Regions from separate parts of the Homo sapiens genome. Here region 1 is linked to region 2. The links are contacts of gene promoters, found by promoter capture Hi-C in blood cells and fetal thymus (Javierre and others, 2016). All regions are on one chromosome and are shown on one strand. The core of a region is centred on a gene start or on the middle of the fragment in contact, and the rest is flanking DNA. Distances in the headings are between cores, read along the strand shown.

Region 1 (6,530 bases), core at 1,715-4,214, 650 kb after region 2:
TTATTTATTTATTTTTTTGAGACGGAGTCTCTCTCTTGTCACCCAGGCTGGAGTGCAATGATGCAATCTTGGCTCACTGCAACCTCCGCCTCCCAGGTTCAAGCAATTCTTCTGCCTCAGCCACCTGAGTAGCTGGGATTACAGGCACCCACCACCATGCCCGGCTACTTTTTGTATTTTTAGTGAAGACGTGGTTTCACCATGTTGGCCAGGCTGGTCTCGAACTTGTGACCTCAAGTGATCTACCCGCCTTGGCCTCCCAAAGTGTTGGGGTTACAGGCAGGAGCCACCGCACCGGCCTGTTTTATCATTTTCGTCTTTCATCCATTTCCAGCATTTCCAGTAGACCTCAAGTTTGCTTTATTGATACTGATATGGCTTTCTAAAGCATTATTTCTGTCTCTATTTTGACTCAAACTTTATTATTGAGATTTTTGTTTCTTTGTATTCTCTCCCGCCCGGTTCTCTCCCGTTACTGTAGTAATCTCCATCTCACCCTTTCATTTCCTTACGAATTTCTGTTCTGATTTTATAGAAAGCCTATCATATTCCAAAAGGATGCTAAACCGGTTGTGAAATTTTTCTTTCAGATTCTGCAGATAATCCTTTTCAGAAGTATGCTCCTTTGGGACAGGTGCAGTGGCTCACGCCTGTAATCCCAGCACTTTGGGAGGTCAAGGAGGGTGGATCACTTGAAGTCAGGAGTTCGAGACCAGCCTGGCCAACATGGGGAAACCCCCGTCTCTACTAAAAGTACAAAAATTAACTGGGCGTGGTGGCGCACGTCTGTAGTCCCAGCTACTCAGGAGGCTGAGGCAGGAGAATCGCTTGAACCCAGGAGGTGGAGGTTGCAGTCAGCCAAGATTGCGCCACTGCACTCCAGCCTGGGTGACAGAGCGATGCTCCATCTCAAAAAAAAAAAAAAGAAATGTGCTGTTTTTTTCTCTTCCATTCCCATGGTTTCTGTGTCTTCATTATATGTAAATATAAATATATGTACACACAAATATAAATTTATATACACACATATTTATATTTATAAATAAAAAATATATACACACATATATACATACATATACATATATGCACACAGATATATATGTATATGTGTATATATATTTGTGTATGTGTATATATATGTGTGTGTGTATGTATGTATGTATATATATATATATATATATATATATATATTTCTTTTGACTCCTCTTTGAACAAGGTGGTCTTTTTCCAGACTCACAATTGTCAACAGACAGCACAAGTAGATGGTCCTTGGCCCTATTTGCTGTCTACTTGTGTGGAAAGAGAGGTTAAACAGTTTGCACATAGTCCTTGGTGTCTATATGAATAGCATACATGCACATGTACGCAGAGCAAGCCTAAGAGAAACGGAGTATCATCTCCCTTGCCTTTCCTTTCCTTTGGGTTTCATGTGAAGCCAAATCTGCTGCAGAATGCCAGCTCTGCTTCAAACAAGGAATTTGTATTGGTAAGAATAAGCTATGCTACAATAACAATCCCAAAACCTCAGTGGCTTGGAGAAAGAAAGAACAGCAAATGTTTATTTCTCACTTACATTTCACATCCATCGTGGGGCAACTTTGACTCTTCTGTCTGGGATCCAGACTGAAAGAATAGACCCTGCCGGAGAGCTTACCACTGTCATATCAGAAGAAAACAAGCAAGGGTGGGACCATACACTACATAGTGAAGCTCCTGCTTCAAGCCACCAAATCAGAAACTCTAGGGCTGGGCATGGTGGCTCACTGTAATCCAAGCACTTTGGGAGGCTGAGGTGGGTGGATCTTCCGAGGTCAGGAGTTCAAGACCAGCCTGGCCAACATGGGGAAACCCTGTCTCTACTAAAAACACAAAAATTAGCCAGGCGTGGTGGTTCACACCTATAATCCCAGCTACTCGGGAGGCTGAGGCAGGAGAATTACTTGAACCTGGGGGGCAGAGGTTGCAGTGAGCCGAGATTGCACCATTGCACTCCAGCCTGTGTGACAGAGCAAGACTCTGAAAGAAAGAAAGAAAGAAAGAAAGAAAGAAAGAAAGAAAGAAAGAAAGAAAGAAAGAAAGAAAGAAAGAAAGGAGGGAGGGAGGGAGGGAGGGAGGGAGGGAGGGAGGGAGGGAGGGAAGGAAGGAAGGAAGGAAGGAGGGAGGGAAGGAGGGAGGGAAGGAGGGAGGGAAGGAGGGAGGGAAGGAAGGAAGGAGGAAGGAAGGAAGGAAGGAAAGAAAGAAAGAGAAAGAAAGAAAGAAAGAAAAAGAAAGAAACTAACTCTAGGAGTAGGGCCCAGCAAACTTCATTTCAGCAAGTCTCCAGGTGACTCTGACGCACCCTCAAACGAGAACCACTGCTGCATCGCTTGTACTCCCTGCAAACCAGAACATGGACATAGAGGCTTGCTGTAATTCAGGGTAGTTTTAAAATCCTTAAACCAGAGAAAAATGTAAACAGTTTTAAAAGGAGCAATTCAGGCTGCAATGCAGACTTAGACAAAGTACATACTGCCATCGTCATTTTTTGGAGAGCATCAGCTTCTGGGGAGACCTATCAGCTGCCTTGGCACGTTCTCCCGCCACCCTTCTGTGTGGCTTTCTTTTTTAAATGCTGACGTGAGAAAAAGAAAATTGTGAAGCAGTAGGACAAATAGCTTTCTCAACCCTTGAAAACACTGTTGTCCAGATTGACCCTAGTTTGTATGGTGATGGTGTGACTTCAGCATCTCCATTAGCGCTTAGAACCCAGGACTGGCAGAACCAGGTGCATTTTCCCTTGCCTTAACGATCTGACTTTGGTTGTGTGGCTTAACGCTATTAATGAAATTTAATGTATAATGCTTAGCTGGCCCTGTTCCCTCCTCCTTGTCTTCCATCCCATGATATAGGCATTTTTTTGTGGACGCTGTCCTTTCTTTACCTTTGCTTTTTAAATGGCTTTGTCAACAGCAGAGTGCAGACAGAACTGATTTATATTGTTTGGATGAAAATGTTTTTAGACAGGCTTATGCTGCAGGTTTCTTTTTGCTCATTCTAGTCACTGCCTGTATGTCTGTTTTCCTACTGAGATGGAGGACAAATTCCTAAACAAAATTTGGTAGTTGCTACCAGTCAGTCCTCTGGTCCTATAAATTATTTCTGATGAACTCTTTTGTAATGTAATAGGTGTAGTGGCTTGGCTCTGGTTCTGAAAGACATATAATATCTGTGGTTTTAAAGCAGTGTCTTACAACTCAGCAATTATTTTGAAAAACATTTTGAGATAGTCTACCTACATTAACGCAAGGCAAAAAGGAGGAGTTTGAGACCAGCCCACACAACATGGCAAAACACCGTCTCTACAAAAAAACACAAAGAATTAGCCAGGCATGGTGGTAGGAACCTGTTGTCCCAGCTACTTGGGAGACTGAGATGGGAGAATCATCTGAGCCCGGGAGGCAGAACTTGTAGTGATCTGAGATTGCGCCACTGCACTCCGGCCTGGGCAACAGAGCAAGACCCTGTCTCAAAGAAATAAACAAATAAGAGCAGCCTGGCTAACATGGTGAAATCCCGTCCGTAACAAAAATACAAAAATTAGCCGAGTGTGGTGGCGCATGTCTGTAATCCCAGCTACTCTGGAGGCTGAGGCAGGAGAATCGCTTGAACCCGGGAGGGTGAGGTTACAGTGAGCCGAGATTATGCCACTGCACTCCAGCCTGGGCAACAGAGTGAGGCTCTGACTCAGAAAAAAAGAAAAGAAAAGAAAAGAAAAAGTCCAGTGCCTTCCCACTGTAGAAACTCTATACCCAAATCCCTTCCTACCATAAATGGTCTCTTTTGTGTCCACGCACAACCCCAAAACCAATTCAAAAGTCATTCATCTCTCCAAAACTTCATTTGCCTGACGAATTTACTTTGTTCAACCCCATATTTATTAGGTACCCCACAGTCTCGTCTTAACTTTTCACTCCAATTCCCACTCTCCCTTGGACTGGTAGGGAAAGAGAACATAATGGACTCTGTGGTAGATTTTACAATAATATATTCAAAACATTTACCACCCTTCCCTCCCCAGGCCCCTTACTAGAAAATGGAAAAATGACACAAGTGACTCACATGATACTCCTACTGAACAGCTCTGGTCTAAGTCAATCATGGCATGGCAGAGACGACTAACTATCCACCAAATTATGTGTGTTCTCTCTTCCATAGAATAGCAATATCTCTGGTAAGAAGCAAACTAGCCAGGGAATATACTTCCCAGCATCCCTTGCATCTAAGTAGGGCCACATGACTAGTTGTACTAACGGAATGTGAGAGGAAGTAGTACATGTCCCTTAGGGGCCCAGGTGGTTAAGAAGTCATGTGTCTTCTCCATACTCTTTCCCTGTTCTGTCAGCTTGATGCAGAAAAACGTGATACAATTGGAAGATGAGGGGGCCACAAGATGGAGAGAGTCTGGTCTCTGACTTAGGACTCAGAGGAGCGTTGTAATCAGGCACATCTGTTTGGGACTTCACATAAGGAAGAAAAAAACTTGTATTTGAGCCATTCTGCATTTTAGGTGTGCTGTGGTTGTTACAGAAGCGAGCATTACCTCAACTAATAACATGGGATAATCTCACTCCCTTTGGCAGGTGATGAGCTGAGGGGTAGGTGGAAGACCTAGTACTGGCCAATGAGAAGTAGAAATCTGCTGCTGGGGGCTTCTGGGAGAGGGTTTCCTCCCTGGCTAAAGGAAGGTGCAGTAACAAGGAGCAGCCTGCCACTGACTTCTTGCCTTTGACCATGATGGTGTGCAGTTGGGATGCTGGTGCTGCAGCGACCTTCTTCAGAGCCAAGACACTCAAAGAGATGCTGCCTTAGAATCCTGACGCCATTGAGCTGCCTTTGGAGCTTGTTATATATTAGGTGTGATAAATACCCTTAATATTGAAATCGCTTTCTGCTATATGTACTGGGACCATTCAAACTGGTATATTTATTCTCAATAGAGAAATCATTCATTCAACAAAGATTTATCGTGTGTCCACTGTGTGGCAGGTGCTGTTCTCGGTGCTGGGGATTCAATAGCAAATATGAAAAGTAGGGTCCCTGGGACCTTTATCTTTATCAGACTGTGGGTCTGGCAGAAACACATGCAGATCCAAGGCCACAATTTTATTATATTATATTTTTATGAATATATTAGAGATAAGGCCTCTGTTACCCAGGCTGGAGTACATTGGCACCATCACAGCTCACTGCAGCCTTCAACTAACTTCCTGCCTTAGCCTCCCAAGTATCTTGGGCTCAAGCTATCCTCCCACCTTAGCTTCCCAAGTATCTGGGACTATAGGCATGCACCATCATGCCTGGCTGTTATTTTAATTTTTGTAGAGAAAAGGTCCCACTATGCTGCCCAGGCTGGTCTTGAACTCCTGGGCTTAAGTGATCCACCTGCCTTGGCTTCCCAAAGTCCTGGGGTTACAGGTGTGAGCCACTGTGCCTGGCAGAGGCCATAATTTTAATTCAAAGAGTTTCTCAGTAACAACTGTGTTTATTCACTCACAAATATTTACTCAATATCTATGTTGGGTGATAGGAATATGACAGTCTTGCTGTCATGACACTTACAGTGAGGGAGATAGACCTTAATCAAAGAATCTCACAAATCAATGTATCATCACAAACTGTAATGATATGAAAATGTGGGCTGGGCGTGGTGACTCACTCCTGTAATCCCAGCACTTTGGGAGGCCAAGGCAGGTGGATCACCTGAGATCAGGAGTTTGAGACCAGCCTGGCCAACATGGTAAAACCCGTCTCTACTAAAAATACAAAAATTAGCTGGATGTGGTGGCGCACGCCTGTAATCCCAGCTACTCGGGAGGCTGAGGCTGGAGAATTGCTTGAACCTCGGGGGCAGAGGCTGCAGTGAGCTGAGATTGTGCCACTGCACTCCAGCCTGGGCAGCAGAGCACGACTCCATCTCAAAAAAAAAAAAAAAAAAAGAAATAAAAGAAAAAGAATATGTATAACAGCAGGCTTGACCTTCACATCCATCACAATTGCAAATAATGACTTTTAAAATTGTCTACTGTCTCTCTTCACTGCTAGACTACAAGCTCCAGGAGGATGGGGACACTTTCTAGTCTTGTTCTCTGCTCCATCCCCATCCCTAGCAAAATGCTTAGAATGGAGTAGATATTCATTCGTAGTTGCTTCATAAATGAGCAGTTATGAAATGGGTTGCCTTCTGGATGAGGGAAAAAAAATCTCATAGCAACTGTGCTCCCAGGTGGAAGGTGCACATATTCTGCTTGCGTGAGCGATACAAAGATGGATGAAACGCCCTCAGCAGAAGATTCTCAAGGATTTTCAAAGTCAGCAACAATTTCTGGTGAGGGAAGCTGGTTGAGGAGATTGATTGGGAAAATGAAGCTAGAAGGTGTGTAGACTAGCAAGAGCCTCTAGGGGCTGGGTCAGTCTGATTTGTCTGGGCAGGCACTTTGGGCTGTGGTGAACTAGGCCAAGTGCAGGCTCCAAAACACACCTTGGGGTTGGAA
Region 2 (5,786 bases), core at 2,845-5,344:
TCCCTATGTTGCCTAGGCTGGTCTCAAACTCCCGGGTTCAAATGATCCTCCCACCTCAGCCTCCCAAAGTGCTAGGATTACAGGTGTGAGCCTCGCCTTAAGATTTTTTTTTCCAGTTCCTTTTGTCTTTAGGCTATACCCCACCAGGCATATGCAGTCACATTGCTGTGGTGTGAAATAACTTGAAATCATTCTCTGCGGGGTTATGCTGACAACTTGGTATGTTATTAAATTGGTTTGTTATATTTCATTTCCATTGTTATGTCATTGTGTTTTATGGTCGTGTAAAAACATTTATATGGTTCCAAAGTTAAAATGACCCCTAGCCATAATCCTTTCACCAGCTGCTGCTTAGTACCTCAAAGACATTTGCAAAGATTTGTTGACTTTTATGACACATGTATATGATTGTCCTACTCTAATTCATCTGCTGGGGGATGGGTGTTTCTTACTGGAAAACCGGAGACATGTCAAGGAGCATGATTTGCCTTAAAGCTCAGCTTGATCGAATACTTGTAGGGTGATTCGCTAACGAAAGGTAAAAAGGCATATTTCAGGGTCTCTAATCAAAATTGCCCTGCTTCACCCAGATACGTTTTTTTTGTTTTGTTTTTTAGAGAGATGGGGTCTCGCCCTGTCACCCAGGCCGCCATGCAGCGATGCCGCCATAGCTTACTGCAGCCTCAAACTCCTAGGCTCAAGCAATCCTCCCTCGTCAGCATCCCTAGTAGCTGGGACTACAGGCATGCAACACCATACCAGACTAATTATTTTATTTTTTGTACAGACGAGTATCACTTTGTGGCCCAGGCTGGCCTCAAACTCCTGGCCTCAAGTGATCCTCCTGCCTTGGTCTCCCAAAGTGCTGGGATTACAATTTCCCCCAAGATTAACGAGCCCTCCTTTCTTAAGACTTTCTCTTCCCGCCTTTTGCAAATCTTTCTTTCTCTCCGGCCTCCTCTCCTGATACAAGAGTCTTTTGTGAATGTTCTAGCGCGTTACTATAGCCTATAGTTATTATAGCCTATAGTTAATGACTATAACATTACTATAACGTTACTATAGCCTATAGTTAATGACTATTAACCACAATCATCACCTGTCACCACTTGACACAGCATCTCACAGTGTCCCTCACCTTCAAAGTTGCTTCCAACTCTGCTTTCAAATATCTGAAAACAGCTGGGCGCGGTGGCTCACACCTGTAATCCCAGCACTTTGGGAGGCCAAGGTGGGCAGATCACCTGAGGTCAGGAGTTTGAGACCAGCCTGGCCAACATGGTGAAACCCCGTCTCTACTAAAAAAATACAAAATTAGTCGGGCATGGTGGTGCTCGCCCGTTTTCCCAGCTACTCGGGAGGCTGAATGAGGAGTATCACTTGAACCTGGGAGTCAGATGTTGCAGTGAGCCAAGATGTCACCACTGTACTCCATCCTGGGCAACAGAGTGAGAATCTGTCTCAAAAAAAAAAAAAAAAAAAAGAGGCCGGGCGCAGTGTCTCATGCCTATAATCCCAGCACTTTGGGAGGCTGAGACGGGCGGATCACGAGGTCAGGAGATCAAGACCATACTGTCTAACATGGTGAAACCCTGTCTCTACGAAAAATACAAAAAAAATTAACCGGGCGTGGTGGCGGGCACCTGTAGTCCCAGCTACTCGGGAGGCTGAGGCAGGAGAATGGCGTGAACCTGGGAGGCGGAGCTTGCAGTGAGTTGAAATTGCACCACTACACTCCAGCCTGGGCGACAGAGCGAGACTCTGTCTCAAAAAAATAAATAAATAAAATATATATATATACACGTATGTGTGTATATATATGTATATATATGAAGAACAAGAAGTGCAGAGAAAATATCCTAGTCATTGAAAAATTGGTTACTTTGTTTCTGCACTGCAAAGTTACTTTAAACTTTGTAATGAATCTAGTGGAGAGATCATTTGAGATGAGGCAAATGTCCTGTTTCTCATCATACATTTACCCACTAATTTTAGCCTGTATTGATGATAATTCTCACCTGCAACAGTTACTGTGGTCTTTGCCAAATGGTGATTTTCTTTTTCTATTTTCATCATTCCTTCTATATTAATTAATTGGAATTCTACTGTAAGGAAAAGTTGTTCCTTCTAACCCATTGATTTGTTCAATCATGTATTTAAGTAGGACCTATATTTTACTTGTTCCTTGCTATATCTTCAGTGTGTAGTACAGTGTCTGACACAAAATCGGTGCTCAATAATAGGTGTTGGATGAATGAGCAAATGAATGAATGAATTCATATTCATATGGCCTACAGAGTTCCCGTACATGCACAACCAATATCACCACCCCGTGGAGATGACTCCCAAATTAATATTTTTAGCAAATGTTCCAGACTTACAACTCCAACTTCCCGGGGGACATCTTCAGATAGCTGTGCCACTGCCACCACCAGGTCAACATGTCCCAAACCATTCAGACCAGCTTTTTCTCCTGAGCTGGACATCTGGCCTCCAACCTTTTCATTCTCTTTTACCTTTCATATTCTATCAGCAGCAGCAGCTGCTGAAATCATACCATGCAAGTTTCTCACGTCCATCTCTGCCTTTTAATGGCGCCCTCTCACTCCTTTAAGAAGTTTTCTTCCACTGCAACACGATCTCTCAGTCCAGAGTCTGGCCCAGTGCCCAAATTATTTCTCTAGCTATGCTGAGAGCTGGTCATGCTTTGAACTTCTGCTTTGAATACTTTCAGTGACACTGGGAGAGAATTATCTCATTGGACCATTGTCATTGTTAGAAAATTCATTGTTATGCTGAAATGAAATGATTTTATTCACACACACACACACACACACACAAAATAGCTCTTCCTCCTGGAACATGACTGGCCTGAAAATGTGTGAAGACATATCCAATCCTCTCTGGTTTTACTGTTCATCCAATTTTCTGTTCTCCTCCTGGCAGGAGGATTATATTTCACCTTGTGGAACTCAGACATGGTCGGGTAACTAGCTCTGGTCCGTGAAAATTGAGAGGAAGTGACATGTGTCACTTCTGGGCAGAAGCTTTGAGAGCCGGTTTAAATGATCCCTTTTCTCTTCATCCATGAGACAAGCTAAGTTCCAGAGAGAGGGTGCCACGCTGTGAGGGACCTGTGTTACGAGTACGATGGCTCGCGTCACTTCAAATTCTTGAAATCACTGAAATTTGGAGGTCAGTTGTTACATCATAACCCAGCCAATTCTAGTTAGCCTGTTTTCTTCCTAACTTCTTTAATCGTTCTTCATAAGTCACAATCGCAGCCCCTCACCGTTCTGACCACTGTCCCCTGGATTCCACTCAGTTTACTCATTATCCCCCTTAAAATGTGGAGCCCAAATCTGAACCCGGAACCCCAGGTGCAATCCCACTAGGACACAACACAATGGGTTCCTGAGCCCTTTGATCCTCTGAATAGAGCCCCTTGTTGCTTTGGTGTTTTGTCTCTGTGTGTGCTTTTATCATCGGCTGAGCCACGCTGTTAACTCGCAGTGAGCCTGTGAACCAATAACTAGAGAAAAAAGATTTTTCCCATTGTCCTCTCGACATATATTGGGAAACAAATTTTTTGATCCGCGTTCAAGTAGACAGGGCAGAACTGTCCAACTGCTACGTGATCTTTTAAAGACAAAGTTAGTGGCAGACCATTTACAGAAACCAGATGTTCTGTCTTTTGGCTCTGAGCATGCTGCTAATCTTCATCATCTAGTGTACTGAACGAGATGTACTGAACGAGGGCTGCAGAGCTGCAGCACCGGCAGGAGTAGGCGCTCGGTAGGACGGGGCCTGCACAACCTCCCCGGTAGTCAGCAGAGCGGAATCTAGGAAGGCTCCTTTCCCGCGGCGCCCTGGAGGCGGGGGCCCCACCTTCCCACGCAGGCGCTATCAAGCCCCGCCTCCTCACCCGCCCGCGGCGTGGCGTCGGAAAGAGCCCTCAGCCCCTCCCTCTCTGGCGCTGATACCCAATGGGCAGCCTCAGGCCTTTAGCGGGGGCGGGGCACCCCCTGGACGCCGTTCTGGTTGGCCCGCGGCCCGGCGCAGCGCATGACGTTATTACGACTCTGTCACGCCGCGGTGCGACTGAGGCGTGGCGTCTGCTGGGGCACCTGAAGGAGACTTGGGGGCACCCGCGTCGTGCCTCCTGGGTTGTGAGGAGTCGCCGCTGCCGCCACTGCCTGTGCTTCATGAGGAAGATGCTCGCCGCCGTCTCCCGCGTGCTGTCTGGCGCTTCTCAGAAGCCGGTGAGACCTCCCGGGCGGGCCGGGATGGGGCGCGAGTGGGGCTGAGGCGGGGCCGGAGGGCAGGGCGGGCCAGGCCGGGCCACCCAGAGCGGGGTGGAAGGCGCCAGGGGAGCCGGGGAGCCTTTACTTCGCCTCCGCGCCCTGCATTCCGTTCCTGGCCTCGGGAGAAGCGGCACGGACCGGGATCACGCCAAGGTCCGTGTGAACTTCCCCCTTCTCGACACCCACCTCCCGCCCCCGGGCCCAGCTGTGCGCCAGGCGAAGTCGGTGTGCTCAAGAGGTGCCTGTTGGGTTACAGGACACGGAAAGGGTGGCCTCGGCCTCCTTCGAGTCTCCAATTGACCCCACTCATTTCGGATCTTCTAACTTAATTTCTCTTGACCGAGAGGCTTTGTAATAGCGTAGAATCTGGAGACAGGGTGGCTTCGTTCAAACAGCACCCTCACCATTGACTAGCCCTGTGACCTTGAGCAAGTTTTTAAACGTCCCGGGGACCCGGTTTCCTAAAATGTTTGCTCGAAGTGGAGTTAATCTCTAAATGGAGATAAGAGTTATCTCTGAAATGTTATCAGTTAACTCTAAAATGGAGATAATAAGAGTCCCCACCTCTTGGGGTTGTCTTGAGGATTCAACGAGTGACACGTGTGGAAACGATTCCAAATAGCACCTGGCACATAATCGATAACATGTGTGTTGAATAGTGTTATTTATTGAGTCTCCAGTTCGGTATACATTTCTTGAACACCTGTGCTCAGTTCTGAGGCGGGTTCACAGAAGGTCAGCCTCTTCAGAAACAAACTTCCTCCTCTTCCCTCTCCCTCAACATCTGAGCTTTTCTTGGCAGTGAGTTCAGGAGCGCCGAAGCAGAACTCAGAGGACGCTGCCCTCCCCTCCCCTTACCTACACATTCTTAGGGTACAAGTAGCTAAAGCAAAGAGCAACGATGCTTGAGGGGTGGGGGGTAGAGTTTAGCACTATTTCATGGCCTCAGCATTTAGAGGTGCCTAACACCTGAGCTAGCATTCTGACCCCCCTAGGCACAGTGAGGTCGTGTTAATTGGTGTAACTGCAGGCCTCGGGATTCTGGTATTTCCCCCAGGACTTGATACCGCTCTACTTAGTACAGGCAGAGATTGTCAAAAGGTAAGAGGTATGCCCCTCTAGGAATCCTGTTGCCTAAAATAATGACAAAACTGCCGGGTGCGGTGGCTCAGGCCTGTAATCCCAGCATTTTGGGAGGCTGAGGCAGGTGGATCACCTGAGGTCAGAAGTTCGAGATCAGCCTGGCCAACATGGTGAAACCCCGTCTCTACTAAAAATACAAAATTAGCCGGTCGTGGTGGCGGGCTCCTGTAATCCCAGCTACTCGGGAGGCTGAGGCGGGAGAATAGCCTGAACCCGGGAGGCGGAGTTTGCAGTGAGCGGAGATCGTGCCATTGCACTACGGCCTGGGCGACAAGAGCAAGACTCCGTATTTTAAAAAAAAAAAAAAAAAAAAAAAAAAAAAAGCGTTCCCTTTAGGGA

Evidence for each region. The method cuts DNA at HindIII sites, captures the fragments that hold promoters and counts their contacts. A CHiCAGO score of 5 or more calls a contact.
Region 1: a contact is called between a fragment that was not itself captured here and the fragment with the promoter of PDHA1 in region 2, in 1 of 17 cell types (neutrophils). The highest score is 9.5, in neutrophils.

What each region holds. Positions count from the first base shown.
Region 1 is chrX:19,993,575-20,000,104 of GRCh38, forward strand. No RefSeq gene overlaps it. Among named protein-coding and RNA genes, the nearest start is that of BCLAF3, 5.8 kb to the left of the region's middle. The HindIII fragment of the contact is 9,736 bases long and covers 1-6,530 here.
Region 2 is chrX:19,339,833-19,345,618 of GRCh38, forward strand. It overlaps PDHA1 (pyruvate dehydrogenase E1 subunit alpha 1), which reads left to right and starts at 4,095. Exons shown (of 11, transcript NM_000284.4): 1 at 4,095-4,262. The coding sequence starts at 4,206. The HindIII fragment of the contact is 3,035 bases long and covers 3,046-5,786 here.